Regions from separate parts of the Homo sapiens genome. Here regions 1, 3, 4, 5, 6 and 7 are each linked to region 2. Evidence: promoter capture Hi-C in 16 types of primary human blood cells and fetal thymus (Javierre and others, 2016). All regions are on one chromosome and are shown on one strand. Each heading gives the region's core, a stretch centred on a gene start or on the middle of the fragment in contact. The rest is flanking DNA. Distances are from core to core; before and after follow the strand shown. Region 1 has its middle 6.6 kb from the start of KLF14. Region 2 holds the start of CPA2 (carboxypeptidase A2). Region 3 overlaps TSGA13 (testis specific 13). Region 4 overlaps COPG2 (coat protein complex I subunit gamma 2). Region 5 overlaps LOC105375508 (a long non-coding RNA gene). Region 6 has its middle 15 kb from the start of TSGA13. Region 7 overlaps LOC105375508 (a long non-coding RNA gene).

Region 1 (2,700 bases), core at 23-2,522, 460 kb before region 2:
TAGATGTAACTGAGACAGGATCACTGCAGAAAGGGAAGGCGCTATTCAATAGATCAATTTGTGCTGCCTTTATGCTCAGCCAGAATTGCAGTTGAGGATTCTAAGGTCAGTGGCATAAGTTCCATGTATATGTAAGAGCACAGGTTAGGGACATTCTAGCTCTTAAATTATTCTGGGAAGTATCAGGTGGTATCAGATCAGTTTCCCCATTATCTGGATTTGAAATGCACCCTTTAATAGGGCTAAGGAGAGGCCAATGGGAGGCTCCAAATCCTTTAATTCATATGGGATATCCAGAATCACCTTCTATTTATATTCCAAGTTGGTGCCAGATGTGTTTACTATATAAGCCCTGACAGTGGAATTTCAAGGCCTCAGCTGAATTTCTTGTGTGTTCAACCACAGAGAAATGGTGGATTTTATCACAAATACATAAAGAGGAATGGAAGTTTTTGTTATATAGGGGTTTGAGGAAGAGAAAAGCATTGTATACCATAATCCCAAAGGCAGGAAAAGTATTAAAAAGGCTTTTGCCTGAATCCTTCTCTCCCTAGGAATCAGGGTCTATTCAGGAAATAAAATGGGAGCCATATTTGTTTCAAATATATATATTTAAATCTTGAAATCAAAATAGAAGCAGTACAAGGGTGAAAACTGAAGAAAGGATGATGGTTTGATTAAGCTGAAAGAAGAGAAGGATTTATTTAGAAGAAAGGTTGTGTTTTCAGAGGACAGTATTGATGATGTGAAAAGAAAAATAAGAAAGACCAGTAGCCAACAATCTTAAACATGGAATTATAAAGGAGAGTGGCATTTTAATTATTAGTAGGTTAGAGGAGGTGATTAGAACCCTAAGAGATCTAACAAAAGAATGGACGCAAGCTTTACATGAATGTCTGTCTTCACTCAGGATCTCAGGCCCAAGAAAATATTGAGAGATACCTGTTTAAATTTGCAGAGAAAGCACTGGGAAATCATCCCTATCACTGAGATAGGTATAGTAGATGATTACAGAAAATGTAAACAATACTTCCAAGTATTTTTAGCTTAGTTTCAGTGATATTACCATTGTCAGTGGGAATATAGATGGTTGCTTGGAGAACGTACAGAAAGAAGTAAGTCTTTAGAAAGTGTGGGAAGATGAGACACATGAAATATATCAAAGTTATTGATCAAATTAATAGAAATTAGGAAGCAAAAAGGCATAACCGTCTCAATAGTTTCATTGTTAAAAATCAACAATGATTTGTGATTTAATTTAAAAATACCTTAGTAAACTAGTAACAAAAGATAATTTCTTAAGTTGATAAAAGGTATCTGCCAAAAGCCTACTATAAAAATCAAACTTAAATGTTGAAAGATTGCAAGCATTCCTATCGGCCACATGGTAAGATACAAAGAAAGTCTAGACAAACTTCAGGCAGGTAATCACATAAAAATACAACAAAAATATCATTAAAAATCCATAAATTGAGAAATCCGTAAAAGGAAGCCTCTACGTAAGTCAGACAGAAGGGGAAATTGCAGAAATTTGGAGCTGAATGAAAACAAAAAGCACTATATAGCAAGCAAAAAACACTAGGGGAGGAAATGTAATTTATAGCCTTAAATATTTTATTCAAAAAAGAGAAAGGTTGAATGAAGGTGAATGAACTAAGCTTTCAACTCCAGAAGAAAAGGAAAACATTTAAATATTACAATGGTTGTGGCCTCCAAAACAGCATACTACATAAATAGATATACACTATATGTGTGGTTTAAGATTTCATAGGGATGTGGGGAACGGGGAGTGATTAGGAAAAAAAAATCTGAAACCAATTCTGGAGGGGTGATAATAAAAAAAGAATGAAAAATATTATCATTAATAAAGCAGAAATTAATGAAACAAGAAAAAATAGGTAGCTTTGAGCAAAACTCTTTTAAAAGGTGAATAACAGTAGGTTTCTTTGGCAAATATAAATTTCTTAAAAAGAGAAGTCAGGGTCGGGTGCAGTGGCTCACGCCTGTAATTCCAAAACTTTGGAGGCCAAGGTGGGAGGGTCATTTGAGCCCAGGAGTTCAAGAAGCATGGCAAAGCCCTGTCTCTACCAAAGAAAAAAAAAAAAAAAAAAAAATTAGCTGAGTGCGTGGTATGCACATGTAGTCCCAGCTACTCAGGAGGCTGAAGCTGAAGAATTGCTTGAGCCGGGGAGGCCGAGGCTGCACTGTGATTGTGTCACTGCACTTCAGCCTGGGCAACAGAGTGAGGCCCTGTCTCAAAAATAAAATAAAATAAAATAGAAGGCACAAAAAGTTATCAGGAATAAAACAGGACATAAAATCATAACACAGATTTTTTAAATTAGAATAATACAAACAACTTTATATCAAGAATTGAAAACTATATGGATAATTTTATAAGAAAAATATAAAATTTCAAAATAGTTTAAGAAGATGTAGAAAATCTGAAATTGAAGTGGTAGTCAAACTTGTATCTCCCAAAAGGCACTAGGTCTCAGCAGTTGCATTGGCAAATTTTCTAAGCCTTCAAGAAAAAGATAATTTCTATTTTTATAAAGCACTCTAAAGCATAGAAAAGGATAGAAAATTAACTAATTTCTTTTATGTTGTCAAGCTAACCTTGATACCAAAACAAGGCAAGTTAAAAGACAAGAAAAAAAAATACGCCAATTTTATCTATAAAGACAGGTCCACAAATCC
Region 2 (2,700 bases), core at 59-2,558:
TCCTAAGTCACTGCCCCAACTGTTTGTGCAGTGGGGAAGGAATCAATACAATGAGCCATGTACAGGGACCAGAATATGGGTCTTCTGAAACCAAGCTCCATGCAATTTCCTACGAACTCCAGTGGAATACAGAAGTGATGGAATGTGAGCTCTTCGAGGCTCACCTGCCACAAATGGTCTGAAAATTCTTCCATTTAAGTCTCATTATTTTCGGTTAATGCATGGACTCCCAGGAGTCCTCCTTTAAAATGGGAAGGCACTGAGAAAAGTAATACAACAGGGTCATATTTCCTGGTGTGTGTTCTAAAGAATAGTAGTTCTTTGAGTTACTCAGTGAAAGAAAGAAAGAAAGAAAGAAAGAAAGAAAGAAAGAAAGAAAGAAAGAAAGAAAGAAAGAGAAAGAAAGAAAGAAAGAGAAAGAGAAAGAAAGAAAGGGCAAGCTGGGAGCAGTAGGTAGTTTATGATTAAAAAAAAGAGTACATGCTGCAACCTAGATCCCCTCTTATAGATTTATAATGCACACTGATTTAGCCAAGGCTCCTAGAAATCCTATAGTTTGTTTAATCCTCTGATTCCCACATTTATTTGACCAGTGGCTTTTTGGGACCAAACTTATTTGATTGCTTTCTTAGCTCCCTGGACCACTCTTCAAAAAATGCTGCCTGAAACCCTTCATAGAATCATGAAGCAAAGTACTTTGGAGCAAAGATGAGTCCTCCAAAGCCAGGAGAGGAGGAGTTGAGCTGAAATCTATAGCCCTGGCCTTTCTACTTCATGAGGTTCCACCACCTAGGTGCTGAATCTAAAGATCGGGGGTTAGGGCACAAGGGCTAACGTGGATGGTAAAGCCCAGAAGAGCAGGAGGAGGTGGGAGAGTAGCATTGACACCCGCTGAGTTGCCTGGAACAAATGGCCACACAGCTGTATTTTCCCTGATGTCTATCATCCCTACAGTCTGATCACTGGAGGGAAAAATGAGTAAGGACAGAGAGAAATAGGGTTATGTGTGTTCAGTTTTCACTTTTGTCTTTTCCTTTAAATGTCATTCACCTCCTTTTTGATCATCCACTCCTTTTTTTCACACTATTGACTTATCCCCAAATCTAAGAGAACTTCTCTGAAAACACTGAACACTTATACCCATTTACTCTGTAACAATCAAAGCCTCCATCAATCAGGTAAGTAAAATTCAAAGAAGCACCAGAAAGCATAACTTACCCCACAAATGTTTCTAGACAGTAGATATGCCCAAAAAGGGCACCAAAAAACAGGATCAACCTCATGGCCATGGGTTTTCCTGGAGTCCAGAATTCAGAGTCCTTCCTGAACTTTATTTGTAGGGATGGCAGCTGAGGGTGATCTGCTGGCCTTCTGAGAACTCACGTGAATTCCCACATGGGAAAATTCCCACCTGCATGTGAAATTCTCAAGGTTGTAGACATCCACCTGTGTGATATCACCAATGTGTACATGTTCCATTCCTAGGATAAGATAACAAACTTTGATGGAAAGAGAACAAAATTGCTAGAGCATACCAAGGGCAATATAGTTATGATTGAGACCATAAAACGCCACTAGCTACCCTGTGATAGAAGCCAGATTAATAGACCTAGAGGTTAAAGTCTTTTCTGGGTCTCTGACACACACACAAAAAAAAGGCCAGAGCATTTATAGTAATTACTCAGGCATCCTGTCTATCACATTCCATTAGTTTGCTCATTTGTTTATTTTTATAATGTTTACCTTGAAACACTGCAGTCACTCAGTCCACATCTGCTGAGTGTCCCTGTAGATGTGGCCCATTCCAATCCTCACTCTACATTAAAACAAAACAGAAGGCCTTTTAATATTCAATTTTGCACTTTCTCGAAAGTGATCCATCTGCATTTGCACCAAATTGATATCCCTCTTTCTGTGCTTTTTCCCAAAATGAAAATGTCTTTCTGATGACATTTCCTATAACAAGCAACAATGAAGTTGCTTGTTATAAAAAGTGTGAATTAAAAGAAAGTGTTTTCTTTAACCATCAATAATTCTTCCATCCAAAGAAAACCATTTGGCATATGTCTTTCCAAATTTCTTTCTCTGCTTTCGAGTTTTTTTCTTAAACAAAGATTAGACCATATCACGTATACTGTTCTTTAAACAAAGGTGATCTTTTCTTGTTCATAAACATAGATCTACATTAATCTGACTTTGTTCTTCATTGCTTAAGAAGAAAATATAACTGCTTATTTTTAGAAACCATAGTTTATTTAATTTTAGTTGTTCATACACGTTATATTAAGCCTAGAAAGCCTCAACCACAACAAGCAGCAAGGAAATTTTCGTCTGTCCTTTGTGTGTCAAATTTATCAGCACACACTTTAAATCTCTGGGTTTGCATTCTCAAATATCTGCTTTAAGGGGAAAGGTATATACACAGTGTTTCTGATTTTAAGAATGACTGGATTAACTTGGTTTTTCATTCTCCTGGGAGTCAGAGAGAAGACAGAAACCAAAAGGCAGAGGCCATAATTCATCCTCATGTCTCCAGCACCTATCAAATAAACAGTAGTTCAATAAACTGGAAGTATGTACTTGGAGAATCAATAAAAGCTTCCTGGAAAAAATCAAGTTTCAGGCTGGGCTCAGTGGCTCACGCCTGTAATCCCAGCACTTTGGGAGGCCAAGGCAGGTGGATCACGAGGTCAGGAGATC
Region 3 (2,700 bases), core at 67-2,566, 410 kb before region 2:
CTAATAGGAGAAAGATCAATAAATGAGGTATGTTAAAGTAATAGAAGAATATACAAAATACAGAAGTAATGTAGAATACAGTATTTCTGTTGGGAAAAAGGGAGTGAGTAGGGAAGTGACCCATGACAAAAGAACAGGAAAATATCAAATCAGAGGAAAGAGCAAAAGCATGAAGACATGGGAAAATGAGGTGCATTCAGGAAGATGTAAGAGAGTAAATGGCAGGGCCAGGCGCAGTGGCTCACGCCTGTAATCCCAGCACTTTGGGAGGCTGAGGCGGGCAGATCACTTGAGATAAGGAGTTTGACACCAGCTTGGCCAACATGGTGAAACCCCATCTCTCCTAAAAATACAAAAATTAGCCATGCGTGGTGCTGCATGCCTGTAGTCCCAGCTACTCAGGAGGCTGAGGGAGGAGAATCGCTTGAACCTGGGAGGTGGAGGTTGCAGTGAGCCAAGATAGCGCTACTGCATTCCAGCATGGGCGACAGGGCGAGACTCTATCTCAAAAAAAAAAAGAAAAAGCAAATAGAGTAAATGGCAGGAGACAAAAGGATGTAATCAAATTTGCATTTTAGGAAGACTGTTTTGGAGGTTGAAGAAAGGTGCATTAGTAGTTGTGGAAGAGACAAAACCCAGAAAGATGAGTTATAATGTTACTAAAATAGTCAAGGTGAGAGATACTGAAGACCTGAACTAAATCATTAGCAGAGGAAGTAGAGAAAATTTAATTATGAGATATTTAAGAATCAAAATCTGGCCGGGAGCAGTGGCTCACGCCTGTAATCCCAGCACTTTGGGAGGCCAAGGCAGGTGGATCACGAGGTCAGGAGATTGAGACCATCCTGGCTAACCCAGTGAAACCCCGTCTCTACTAAAAATACAAAAAATTAGCCGGGCGTGGTAGCGGGCGCCTGTACTCCCAGCTACTCCGGAGGCTGAGGCAGGAAAATGGAGTGAACGTGGGAGGCGGAGCTCGCAGTGAGCCGAGATCGCACCACTGCACTCCAGCCTGGGCGACAGAGGGAGACTCAGTCTCAAAAAAAAAAAAAAGAATCAAAATCTAAAAAAGGTCATGATAGCCTCAAGAGCGGGTCTAATCTAACAAGAACAAATTAAATAAATGAGTTAAGTGAAAGTGCAAACAAAGGATTCTAGTAGAAATTTTATGCTGGGCATGGGATTACCCAAGTGAGACCCTTATAATAAAATGTGGTGAATTTGGAGTTAGTGTTTCCATAGTTCCTAGATGGATGACAGTGAGAGATTCTCCTTCAAGTGGAAGATAAAATGCTAATATCCAATGGCATGTACTAACAAAGGAGTTAATGAATTTACCGCATGTGGTCTCTTGGGTCTCAGAATTTGTGCCCTTTGAAGGTAAGCTCACTGGTAGTTTCTCATGGCAGTGGGTGGACCATACATTGAGAAAGGGATAAATGCCAGGCCAGGATTGCCCTGCTTAATGCGCAGAAGGAAATACAAAGCTATCATGTAAACTGGGTGTGGGAAGAGCTTTCTTCCAACAGCCTGCACACTTTGTGAACCCTCCAGTTCAGGTGCAGAATCTAATCATATTGATGAGCAAATTGTGGTACCAGTTAAATTGTACTAATGGATAAAGTTAAGGCTCAAAGACTGGCACCATGGTAATTTTATGGGGCTATCAGACTGGAACAAGCCCAAGAAGATTGAAACGTGTGATATCTACAATGCCTCTTTAATATTCATGCAGCATCCTTTCCTTCCCTTGCTGGACAAATGTGATAATCTTTTGTAAACCTAGAATCATTTACAAGAAAAGCATTCTTTGTTATGCCCAGGCATGCATCCAAAAAGACTGTGAGTTCTAGTAGGCAAGTTATGGAATGTACTAGATATATCTATTACAGTGATTGTCATACTAACAGCCCCTTCTAAGTGAAACTGACCCTACCACAGTCTCCTGAGTAAGGGAATATCCTGAGAAGTTCTATTTTGTACAACAGGACCGTGTCCCCACTCCTAGTTGAGACCAGAGGAGGATATCAGACCCAACAAAGCAAAATTCATAGGCTGGGTAGTGACCTGTGATGTGGATTGGTACCCTAAAACCAAAACAAACAAAAAACAAATCAAAACAAAAACCAACCAACCTACCAACATCCAGAATCCCTGAGCTAATCAGATTCTTGTTTCCAGGTCTCTGAATTGAGAAATGAAAAGATTGAAGCAGTAGGAATGAAAGCTAAAAGGACACATAAGAGTAAGGCTAGAAGACTCAAACCGGCCTGGCGCAGTGGCTCACGCCTGTAAGCCCAGCACTTTGGGAGGCCGAGGCAGGCAGATCACGAGGTCAGGAGATTGAGACCATCCTGGCTAACGTGGTGAAACCCTGTCTCTACTAAAAATACAAAAAATTAGCCAGGCGTGGTGGCACATGCCTGTAGTCCTAGCTACTCCGGAGGCTAACACAGGAGAATTGCTTGAACTTGGGAGGTGGAGGTTGCAGTGAGTGGAGACTGTGCCACTGCAGTCCAGCCCAGGCAACAGAGTGAGATTCCATCCCCTCCCCACCCCACCCCCCCCAAAAAAAGACTCAAACCATGAGGAAGAAAGGTAGTGAAGAGGCCATGAAGTCGAGTATGGGAAGGCTGAAGTTATAGGGAAGTAGGAAGTAGAAGTAAATAAGCAGAAGCTATAGGTAGAAAAAAACCCATA
Region 4 (2,700 bases), core at 155-2,654, 390 kb before region 2:
TCTCCTGCCTCAGCCTCTGGAGTAGCTGGGACTGTGGGCACGTGCCACCATGCCTGTCTAATTTTTGTATTTTTAGTAGAGACAGGGTTTCATCATGTTGGCCAGGATGGTCTCAATTTCCTGACCTCTTTATCTGCCCGCCTTGGCCTCCCAAAGTACTGGGATTATAGGCCTGAGCCACCACACCCAGCCTGCAGTGTTTATAATTAATACATTTTTAAGATTTACTGGCTTGTTACATGTACTTCTACTTTATTTACTTTCACTACTATATGGAATTCCAATATGTGAATATACAGTAATTCTATTTATCCATTCTCCCATTGGTAGATATAAGTTGTTCCCACATTTTACCTATTACAAATGATACTGCACATAATGTTTATGTACACAGTGAGACTTTTTCTGGAGTAGATACCTACAAGTGGAATTTCTAGATAATGCTTGTTTGTTCGTTTTTTTTTTTTTTGAGACGGAGTCTTGCTCTGTCGCCCAGGCTGGAGTGCAATGGCATGATCTCGGCTCACTGCAACCTTTGCCTCCCAGGTTCACGCCATTCTCCTGCCTCAGCCTCCTGAGTAGCTGGGACTACAGGCACCCGCCACCACACCTGGATAATTTTTTGTATTTTTAGTAGAGACGGGGTTTCACTGTGTTAGCCAGGATGGTCTCGATCTGCTGACCTTGTGATCCGCCCGTCTCAGCCTCCCAAAGTGCTGGGATTGCAGGCGTAAGCTACCGCGCCCGGCCTAAGCATATTTTCATGTACTTATTTGCCATCTGTATATCTGCTTTGATGAAGTGTCTGTTAAAATTTGTTACCACTTAAAAAAATCAGGTTGTCGGCTGGGCCCGGTGGCTCACGCCTGTAATCTCAGCACTTTAGGAGGCTGAGGTGGGCAGATCATGAGGTCAGGAGTTTTAGACCAGCCTGGTCAACATAGTGAAACCCTGTCTCTACTAAAAATACAAAAAATTAGCTGGGTGTGCTGGCAGGCACCTGTAATCCCAGCTACTTGGGAGGCTGAGGTGGGAGAATCACTTGAACCCAGGAGGGGGAGATTGCAGTGAGCTGAGATCGTGCCACTGCACTCCAGCCCAGGTAACAGTGCAAGACTCCGTGTCAAAAAAAAAAAAATCAGGTTGTCATCTTACTGAGTTATAAGTTTCTTTATGTATTCTGGATAGAAGTCCTTTATCAGACAGATGTTTTGTAAATATTTCCTCCCAGTCTGTGGCTTGCCTTTTCATTTACTGGACTATTATTTTTTTTTTAAGTGTAGTTTTACATGCGGTAAAATTCATCCTTTTTAGGGTATCATTCTATGAGCTTTGACAAACACATATAGTGGTGTTATCACCACCACAATTGAGGTTTAGAACATTTCCATCTCCTCAAAAAGTTCCCCCGTGTCTCTTTATCATCTGTTTCTCCTTGCCTCCCTCAGCCCCTGGCAATCTATCTCCTTTCTGTCCTTATAAATTTGCCTTTTCCAGGAAGTCATATGAATGATATCATACTGTATGAAGCCTTTTTTGAGTTTCTTTTCAGTTACTTAGCATAATGCATGTGAGATTCATCCATATTATTGTTTGTATCAGTAGTTTATTTTTATTTTGTCGTCGTATTCCATTGAATGGATGTACCTCTGTTTATCTGTTTGCCAGTTGAAGGATATTTGGCTTGTTACCAGTTTTTGGTGATTATAAACAACATTGCTATAAACATTCATGTTTTGATTTTTGGATGAACATACATTTTTATTTCTTTTGGATAAATGCCTGGGAGTGGGATTGCTGGGCCATATGTAGGTATGGTATGTTTAACTTTGTAAGAAACTACCAACCCATTTTTCTAAAATATTTGTAATCATTCCCGCCATCACTGTATGAGAGCAGCAGTTTGCTCTGCATTCTGGCCAGCACTTTGTATTGTCGTTTTTATTTTTGTTTTTAATTTTAGCTATTCTGATAGGTGTATAATGGTATCCCTTTGTGACTTAAATTTGCATTTTTCCAATGACTGATGATCTCAAACATCTTTTCATTTGTATTTTTACCTTCCGTATATCTTCTGTTGGTGAAGGATTTGTTAATATCTTTTGCCCATTAAAAAAATTGGATTGTTTATTTTCTTATTATTGAGTTTTAAGAGGTCTTTATGCATTCTGGATACAAATCCTTTATCAGATATGTTTCACAATTATTGTCTCTCAGTATATGGCTTATGTTTTTATTTTGTTAAAGTCTTTCAAAGGGCAGAAGTTTTAAATTTTGATGAAGTCCAGTTTATCAAATTTTTTTCTGTTACAGGTGATGCTTTTTATGTCATATCATAGAAATCTTTCCTTAACCGAAGGGGACAACGATTTTCTCCTGTGCTTTTTTTCTGGGTGTTTGTAGTTTTATATCAATTACCTTATGATCCATTTCATATTGATTTTTGTATATGGTATAAAGTAATGGTTGGTTTCTTTTCACCTCTTTTCTCTTCCTCCATCCACTGCCTCTTCCTTTTCTTCCTTCTTCATTTTCTCAACACATGGTTCTGGAACAATTGAATATCCATATGGAAGGAGAAAGGGGAGGAGGGGGAGGAGATGATGAAGATGATTGAGTTACATTGGCACGTTGGCACATTATTTTGTCTCATTGACCTATATGTCTGTTCTTACTTTAGCTCTATGCTGTCTTGATTAA
Region 5 (2,700 bases), core at 106-2,605, 480 kb before region 2:
CCTACTGTGCAATTACCAAGATAGTCTACATTTTTTCACAGTAATTTTTAAATTCACATTTTGAAATTCATAAACAGCAAAATTCTCTCTTTGTGTACCACTCTATGAGTTTTTAACAAATTTATACAGTCATGTAAGCACCCCCTCAAACAAGATACTGAACAGTTCTGTAACCCTCCAAAATCATTCCTGCCCTTCCTCCCACAGCCAGCCTGTGGCAACGACGGATCTGTTTTTAAGGGATTCCTCATACAAATGGAACCATAAAGTAGGTAGCCTTTATCTGACTTTTTCTCCTGGCATAATGCAGATGAAGTCCATCCACACTGCTGTGTGTCTCACAGTCTGCCCCTTTTCATTGCTGATTATCATTCCATTGCATGAAGTGCCAGTGCGTTGGTCCGTTCACCAGCAGAACAACATCTGGGTTGTTTCTGGTTTTTGATTTTGGGCAATTATGAATAAAACCATCATGAACAGTCACATAAAGGTTTCTGGGTGAATATAAGTTTTCAGCTCTCTTGGCTAACTACCTAGGAGAGGGATTACTGGATCATGTGGTAAATGTGTGTTTAACTTTATAAGCTGGCCTACACATTAGAAATAGAACACCACATACAAATGGCGGAAGCCAGTGGCTAGAGATAAGACCTTGGAGGCATCTCTCCCGTCTAGCACACTGGGCTTTAGGGCTCCAGAGTTTGAGAGTTCCAGATGCTCTGTATTGTCTGGTTTAAAAAGAACATTTAAAAAATTCTAAAAGGGCCGGGTGCGGTGGCTCACGCTGGTAATCCCAGCACTTTGGGAGGCTGAGGCGGGCAGATCACAAGGTCAGGAGTTCGAGACCAGCCTGGCCAATATGGTGAGACCCCCGTCTCTACTAAAAATACAAAAATTAGCCGGGTGTGGTGGTGCATGACTGTAGTCCCAGCTACTCGGGAAGCTGAGGCAGAAGAATTGCTTGAACCCAGGAGGCGGAGGCTACAGTGAGCTGAAATCATGCCACTGCACTCCAGCCTAGGCGACGGAGCGACACTGTCTCAAAAAAACAAAACAAAACAAAAAACCTAAAAGGTGTATAGCGGTGCCTCACTGTGGTTTCAATCTGCATTTCCCTAACTGTTAATAGTGAGCATCTTTTTGTATACTTATTTGCCAGCCCCACATCTTCTTGAGTAAAGTGTTCAAATCTTTTGTCCATTTTAAAAATTGAGTTATTTATTGTTTAATGTTGAACTTTGAAAGTTCTTTATATTTTTTCAATACAAATTCTTTTTCAGGTACATAATTTGCAAATATTTCTTCCAGTCTGTTGCTTGTCTTCTAACTATCTTAGGTGTCTTGCAGAGAAACTTTTAATTTTGATGAAGTCCAATTTCTTTTTTTCTGTTATAGCTTATGCTTTTGATATCAAAATCTAAGAAATCTTGGCCTAACTCTAGAACACAAATCTTTCTTCTTTTTTTTTCCATGGAAGTTTTATAGTTTTGGATTTTTATATTTAGGTCTAAAATCCATTTTGATTATAATTTTGTAGAAGATGGAAGGTATGAATTGAAATTCAGGTTTTATGAACAAATATCCAACTGTTCAAGAACAATCTGCTGAAAAGACTATTCTTTCTCCGTTGAACTGTGTTTGCACCTTTGTCAAAAATCAGTTGGCTAGTTTGATCTATTTCTGAAATCCTCCCTCTGCTCCGTTAATATTTGTGTCCATTTTCCCACCAGTACCACACTGTCCTAATCACTGTAGTTTTATAATAGCTCTTAAAATCAAATAGTATGCATTTCCTAACAACCTATTTTCAAAAGTTTTTTTCCAAAATTGTTTTGATTATTTTAGTTTGTCTTTCCATGTCAATTTAAAATATAATATCTACAAAAGTCACACTCCTACTTGGATTTTGATTACGGCCATTCGAATCTATATGTCAATTTGGGGAGAAATGACATCTACACAGTACTGAGTCTTCCAATCCATGGAAGACTTGCCATTTATTTAGGTATATGCTGTCTTTCATTGGTCTTTTGTAGTTTTAAGTACACAGATAACGAAAATTTTGTTAACTATATATTAAATATTTATCTTTTTGGTGCTAAATGGAACTGGTGTGTGTGGGAAATAATGCTGTTTTTTAATTTTGATTTTTATGTATTCATTGTTAGTATACAGACCTTGTATTTTGAAAACTTACTAAAATGACTTCTTAGTTCTATGAACTTTTGGATAGATGCCTTGGGATTTTCTTAATAGACAATAATATCTGAGAATTGAAGTGAGAGAGTGAACATCCTTAGCTTATTTCCAATCTTAGGTGAAAATCATCCCATTTTTCACTGTTAAGTACAATGTAGGTTTTTCTGTAGATGTCATTTATAAAATTAAGGACATTCCTTTCTACTCCTAATTTTCTAAGAGTTTTTTAATCATGAAGGAATCTTTAATTTTGTTAAATATTTACTCTACATCTATTGAGATTATTCCAGTGCTTTAAATTTGATTTTTATGCTTACCTCCCTAATCCACCTAGAGTTTATTTTTTATACTTGAGAGTGGTTTTTTTTTTTTTTTTTTTTTAATTTTTGTTTTGAGACGGAGTCTTGCTCTGCCGCCCAGGCTGGAGTGCAGTGGCACAATCTTGGCTCACTGCAAGCTCCACCTCCCGGGTTCACACCATTCTCCTGCCTCAGCCTCCTG
Region 6 (2,700 bases), core at 18-2,517, 430 kb before region 2:
AAATGCTCATCATCACTGGCCATCAGAGAAATGCAAATCAAAACCACTATGAGATATCATCTCACACCAGTTAGAATGGCAATCATTAAAAAGTCAGGAAACAACAGGTGCTGGAGAGGATGCGGAGAAATAGGAACACTTTTACACTGTTGGTGGGACTGTAAACTAGTTCAACCATTGTGGAAGTCAGTGTGGCGATTCCTCAGGGATCTAGAACTAGAAATACCATTTGACCCAGCCATCCCATTACTGGGTATATACCCAAATGAGTATAAATCATGCTGCTATAAAGACACATGCACACGTATGTTTATTGCGGCACTATTCACAATAGCAAAGACTTGGAACCAACCCAAATGTCCAACAATGATAGACTGGATTAAGAAAATGTGGCACATATACACCATGGAATACTATGCAGCCATAAAAAATGATGAGTTCATATCCTTTGTAGGGACATGGATGAAATTGGAAACCATCATTCTCAGTAAACTATCGCAAGAACAAAAAACCAAACACCGCATATTCTCACTCATAGCTGGGAATTGAACAATGAGATCACATGGACACAGGAAGGGGAATATCACACTCTGGGGACTGTGGTGGGGTCGGGGGAGGGGGGAGGGATAGCATTGGGAGATATACCTAATGCTAGATGACACATTAGTGGGTGCAGCGCACCAGCATGGCACATGTATACATATGTAACTAACCTGCACAATGTGCACATGTACCCTAAAACTTAGAGTATAATAAAAAAAAAAAAAAAGAAGTTTACGGATAAAAGAAAAAAAAAATAAAGTTTAAATAAAGTTTATAAATTAAAAAAAAAAAAAAAGAAAACACAACCATAAGTCAAAACATTAATTAACCTATTTACATCAAAAAAGCTTTCCAACACCGAGGTAATACTTCACACCCACTGGGATGACTACAAGTGAAAAACAAAAACAAAAACAACAACAACAACAACAACAACAAAAAACCACCAGAAAATAAATGTTTGCAAGGATGTGGAGAAATTGGAACCTCATACATTGCTAGTGGGAATGTAAAATGGTTAGCCATATGATCTAGCATTTACACTCCTAGGTAAATGCTAGCACTATATGCTGCAAATAATAAAAACAGGCACTCAAATAAGCACATGTACACACATGTTCATAACAGCACTATTGATAATAGTCAAAAGGTGGAAACAGCCCAAATGTCTATCAGTGGAAGAGTGGATAAACAAATTGCAGTATATTCATAAGCATATTTTTCAGTGATTAAAAAAAAGGATGAAGTACCGTACCTAATACATGCTATAACATGGATGAACCTCTAAAACATTAGCTAAGTGAAAGAAGCCAGACACCAAAGATCACATATTGTATGATTCCATTTGTATGAAATATCCAGAATAGATAAATTCATAAAGATAGAACACAGATTGGTGGCTGCCAGGTACTGGCAGGTTAGAGAGAAAGAGGAGAAACTGTTTAATGTGCAAAAGGTTTTACTTTAGAGTGAAGAAAATGTTTCAAAACTAGATAGATGCGGTGGTTGCACAATGCTGCAAATGAACTAAATGTCACTGAATTTAAAATAGTTAATTTAAAAAATCTTGGTGGAGGCACACACACACACACAAAAGCTTTCTATCCAGGGAAAAAATTAATGGACAGCTAATAGAATTAAAGAAAATTATTCATACCATTTAAAGCTGACTATGGGTTGATATCTAGAATATATAACAAAATCTTGCAAATTCACAAGAAAATGTCAGCAACTTCATTAAAATAATAGGCAAAAGATATGAATCAGCATTTAAATAAGGAACCAAAAGTTGATAAATATGAAGAAATGTTTAAACTCATTAATAATCAAAGAAATGCAAATTGAAACAACAGTGAAATAGGGAAGAATTAGAAAGTTGAATGATACTAAGTGTGGATGGGGCAATGTGACTTAGCTCATGTTCGCCAAAAGCCAATCTTGAGACATAGATTTATTTTCAAATAACTTATTAAGAAAGTCATCCCAGCATAAACTGGTAAGGAAGTTGGGGATGAAGGACAGAAAAATAGAAGAAACTAAAGAAAGATGTACTGTATTTCAGACAGAGTCCTAGCCTTAATCTGATCCTATAAGGGAGTTCTGGAGAGGAAATTATGCCTCAGCCTGAAAGAGTCTAAGGCAAAGGAGCTGGGCTTTCATCCTTATACTGCAGTGGTCCATTGACTACAGATGTACTGGGGGTACCTAATCTCCCAGACACTTCCTATTCTCTGGGATAAGTGGCTCCAGTAGCCCAAGGGCAATCCTTCAAAGCAGATATTTAAAAGAGGCAGCCATTGTGGAGTGCAATTTGGCATTTCTTTCTTTCTTTCTTTTTGAGACAAAGTCTCACTCTGTCGCCCAGGCTGGAGTACAGTGGCACTCTGTTGGTTCACTGCAACCTCCGCCTCCCGGGTTCAAGCAATTCTCCTGCCTCAGCCTTACGAGTAGCTGGGACTACAGGTGCGAGCCACCACACCCGGCTAATTTTTGTATTTTTAGTAGAGATGGGGTTTTGCCATGTTGGTCAGGTTGGTCTCCAACTCCATGTTGGTCAGGTTGGTCTCCAACTCCTGACCTCAGGTGATCTGCCAGCCTTGGCCTCCCAAAGTGCTGAGATTACAGGCAGCAATTTGACATTTCTCAGACAAATTATAT
Region 7 (2,700 bases), core at 28-2,527, 500 kb before region 2:
AGACAAATAATTCTTAAAACTCAGTAATACGTGGCCGGGCACAGTGGCTCACGCCTGTAATCCCAGCACTTTGGGAGGCCGAGGCAGGCAAATCACAAGGTCAGGAGATCGAGACCATCCTGGCTAACACAGTGAAACCCGTTCTCTACTAAAAATACAAAAAAATTAGCCAGGCATGGTGGTGGGCGCCTGTAGTCCTAGCTACTCCGGAGGCTGAGGCAGGAGAATGGCGTGAACCCGGGAGGCGGAGCTCGCAGTGAGCCAAGACTGCAACACTGCACTCCAGCCTGGGTGACAGAACGAGATTCTGTCTCAAAACAAAACAAAACTCAGTAATAAGTAAACAAACAATCTAATTTTAAAACAGGCAAAAGATCAGAACAGATGTCTCACCAGAGAATATATGGCAACAAATAAGCATATGAAAACAAAATAAATTGTCATTAGGTAATTGCAAATTAGGATAACAATGAGATACTGCTACACTATTAAAATGGCTAAAATCCAAAATTCTGAAAATATCAAATGATGATGAGGATGTGGAGCAAGATGTGGAGCAACAGGAACTCCCAGTCATTGCTGACGGGAATGCAAACTGTTACAGCCACTTTGGAAGACAGTTTGGCAATTTCATACAAACGTAAATATAGTTTTACATTACAATACAGCATCTGTGCTCCTAGGTATTTACCCAATTAAGTTGAAAACTTATGTGCACACAGAAACCTGTAAATGAACGTTTATAGCAGCTTTATTCATACTTTCCAGAAACTGGAAGCAACCAAGATTCCCTTAAATAAGTGGATGGATAAACAAACTGTTGTATATCCATACAATGGACTATTATTCAGTGATAAAAGAAAATGAGCTATTAAACCATAAAAAGACATGAAAGAACTTTAAATACATATTGGTAAGTAAAAAAAAGCAGTCTAAAAAAAGCACATTCTATATGATTCCAATCATAGAACATTCTGGAAAAGGCAAACTGTAAGAGACAGTAAAAAAATCAGTCTTTGCTAGGGGCAAGGGAAGAAAAGTTGAATAGATGGAGTACAGGGGATTTTTGGAGTGGTGAAACTATTCTATATGATAATGTAGAGATAGATACATGACACTATGTCAAAAGCCATAGAACTGTACAACACAAAGAGTGAACCCTAATGTAAATTGTGGACTTTAATGAATTATAATGTATCAATACAATTTCATCAATTGTAAAAAATGTACCTTACCAGTGAAAGATGTTAATAATAGAAAAACTGCGTGCCGGGAAAGAAGGGTTATTTAGAAACTCTCTGTATTATCTAATCAATTTTTCTGTAAACCTAAAATTGCTCTAAAAAATAGTCTATTAAATTTTTAAGTCAATTAAAATTATAAATAAAAGATTTTAATGAAGCAGTGAGGTTTATATAAAACATCTTATACTTACAAGAGCCTATTTTAAGCTGCTCACTTAACTTCAGTTATGTAAAAAAACTACACACTTTAGCACCCCACACACATTTTATGTTTTTGAAGTCACCATTTACATCTTTTTAGATTGTGTATCCCTTAACAAACTTTTATAACTATTATTTTAGAGTTTTCCCTTTTAGTCTTCATACTAGAGATATAAGTGATTTATACACTGCCATTATCATATTAGAATATTCTGGATTTGACTATGTACTTACTTTTACTAATGAGTTTCATAATTTCATATGTTTCCATGTTACTTTTCTGTTTAAAGAACTACCTTTAGCATTTAAAAAATGGAAATGGGGTCTTGCTATGTTGCCTAGGCTGGTCTTGAACTCCTGGCCTCAAGCGATCCTCCTGTCTCAGCCTCCCAAAGTGGTGGGATTACAGGCCAGCATTTTTGTTTAAAGCAGATCTAGTGATGATAAACTCCCTCAGTTTTTTTTTTTTTTAATCTGGGAATGTTCTAAAGTCTCTATCATTTCTGAAAGAACAGCCTTGCTCTATATGGCAGGATTTTTTTTTCTTTCGGTACTTTGAATAAATCATTCTACTCTCTCCTGGCCTACAAAGTTTCTTTTGAGAAATCTGCTGATGGTCTTATGGGGGTCCCCTTGTATGAAACAAGGTTCTATTCTCTTTCTGCTTTCAAACTTTTTGTCTTTAACTTTTGAGAGTTTGATTACAATGTGTCTCAGTGAAGATAATTTTATATTTAATCTATTTAGGGTTCTTTGGGATTCAGGATATGGATGGTCATTTCCCTTTCCAGATTTGGAAGGGTTTTTTTCATCATTATTTATTTAAATATGCTTTCTAATCCTTTCTCTTTCTCTGCTCCTCCTTAAATTCCCATAATGTCAACATTGGTTCACTTGAAGAAGTCTTGTAATTCCCATATACATTTTTCACCGTTTCATCATTATTGTTTTTCTTGTTTTTGTTCTCACCAGGTAATTTCAAATGATCTTTGACCTCAGTGATTCTTTCTTGTGTGTGATTGACCTCTTTACAGAATTTTTCAGTTTAGCCAGTGGAGCTGGCTAAAACTGGAGCCAGTTTAGCTCCAGATTTTCTGTTTGGTTCTTTCTTATGGTTTTTATCTCATCGTAGAACTTCTAATTTTGTTTGTGTATTGTTGCCCTGATTTTATTTAGTTGTCTATATGTGTTCTCTTGTAGCTCACTAAGCTTCTTTGATTATTTTGAATTCTTTGTCAGACAGTTCATTAGATCT

What was found. Contacts are between HindIII fragments. The CHiCAGO score rates a contact against its expected background, and 5 or more counts as called.
Region 1: a fragment that was not itself captured here is called in contact with the fragment with the promoter of CPA2 in region 2 in 11 of 17 cell types (endothelial precursors, erythroblasts, M1 macrophages and 8 more); the score reaches 14.6 in endothelial precursors.
Region 3: a contact is called between a fragment that was not itself captured here and the fragment with the promoter of CPA2 in region 2, in 7 of 17 cell types (endothelial precursors, M1 macrophages, M2 macrophages and 4 more). The highest score is 14.6, in endothelial precursors.
Region 4: a contact is called between a fragment that was not itself captured here and the fragment with the promoter of CPA2 in region 2, in 4 of 17 cell types (endothelial precursors, M2 macrophages, M0 macrophages and 1 more). The highest score is 6.7, in endothelial precursors.
Region 5: a fragment that was not itself captured here is called in contact with the fragment with the promoter of CPA2 in region 2 in 10 of 17 cell types (endothelial precursors, M2 macrophages, M1 macrophages and 7 more); the score reaches 9.6 in endothelial precursors.
Region 6: a contact is called between a fragment that was not itself captured here and the fragment with the promoter of CPA2 in region 2, in 9 of 17 cell types (endothelial precursors, M1 macrophages, erythroblasts and 6 more). The highest score is 17.0, in endothelial precursors.
Region 7: a contact is called between a fragment that was not itself captured here and the fragment with the promoter of CPA2 in region 2, in 6 of 17 cell types (M1 macrophages, naive CD4 T cells, M0 macrophages and 3 more). The highest score is 8.3, in M1 macrophages.

Annotation. Positions count from the first base shown.
Region 1 is chr7:130,726,287-130,728,986 of GRCh38, reverse strand. No RefSeq gene overlaps it. Among named protein-coding and RNA genes, the nearest start is that of KLF14, 6.6 kb to the left of the region's middle. The HindIII fragment of the contact is 776 bases long and covers 885-1,660 here.
Region 2 is chr7:130,265,471-130,268,170 of GRCh38, reverse strand. CPA2 (carboxypeptidase A2) reads right to left here and starts at 1,308. Exons shown (of 11, transcript NM_001869.3): 1 at 1,219-1,308. The coding sequence starts at 1,289. The HindIII fragment of the contact is 5,023 bases long and covers 1-2,600 here.
Region 3 is chr7:130,675,250-130,677,949 of GRCh38, reverse strand. All of the region lies in intron 5 of TSGA13 (testis specific 13), which reads left to right. Among named protein-coding and RNA genes, the nearest start is that of COPG2, 7.9 kb to the right of the region's middle. RefSeq lists an enhancer at 1,080-1,636. The HindIII fragment of the contact is 4,053 bases long and covers 1-2,700 here.
Region 4 is chr7:130,657,124-130,659,823 of GRCh38, reverse strand. All of the region lies in intron 4 of COPG2 (coat protein complex I subunit gamma 2), which reads left to right. Among named protein-coding and RNA genes, the nearest start is that of COPG2, 10 kb to the left of the region's middle. The HindIII fragment of the contact is 4,185 bases long and covers 1-2,700 here.
Region 5 is chr7:130,748,037-130,750,736 of GRCh38, reverse strand. All of the region lies in intron 3 of LOC105375508 (a long non-coding RNA gene), which reads right to left. Among named protein-coding and RNA genes, the nearest start is that of KLF14, 15 kb to the right of the region's middle. The HindIII fragment of the contact is 3,465 bases long and covers 1-2,700 here.
Region 6 is chr7:130,700,064-130,702,763 of GRCh38, reverse strand. No RefSeq gene overlaps it. Among named protein-coding and RNA genes, the nearest start is that of TSGA13, 15 kb to the right of the region's middle. The HindIII fragment of the contact is 749 bases long and covers 893-1,641 here.
Region 7 is chr7:130,768,383-130,771,082 of GRCh38, reverse strand. The region is part of intron 3 of LOC105375508 (a long non-coding RNA gene); the gene reads right to left. Among named protein-coding and RNA genes, the nearest start is that of KLF14, 36 kb to the right of the region's middle. The HindIII fragment of the contact is 2,758 bases long and covers 1-2,656 here.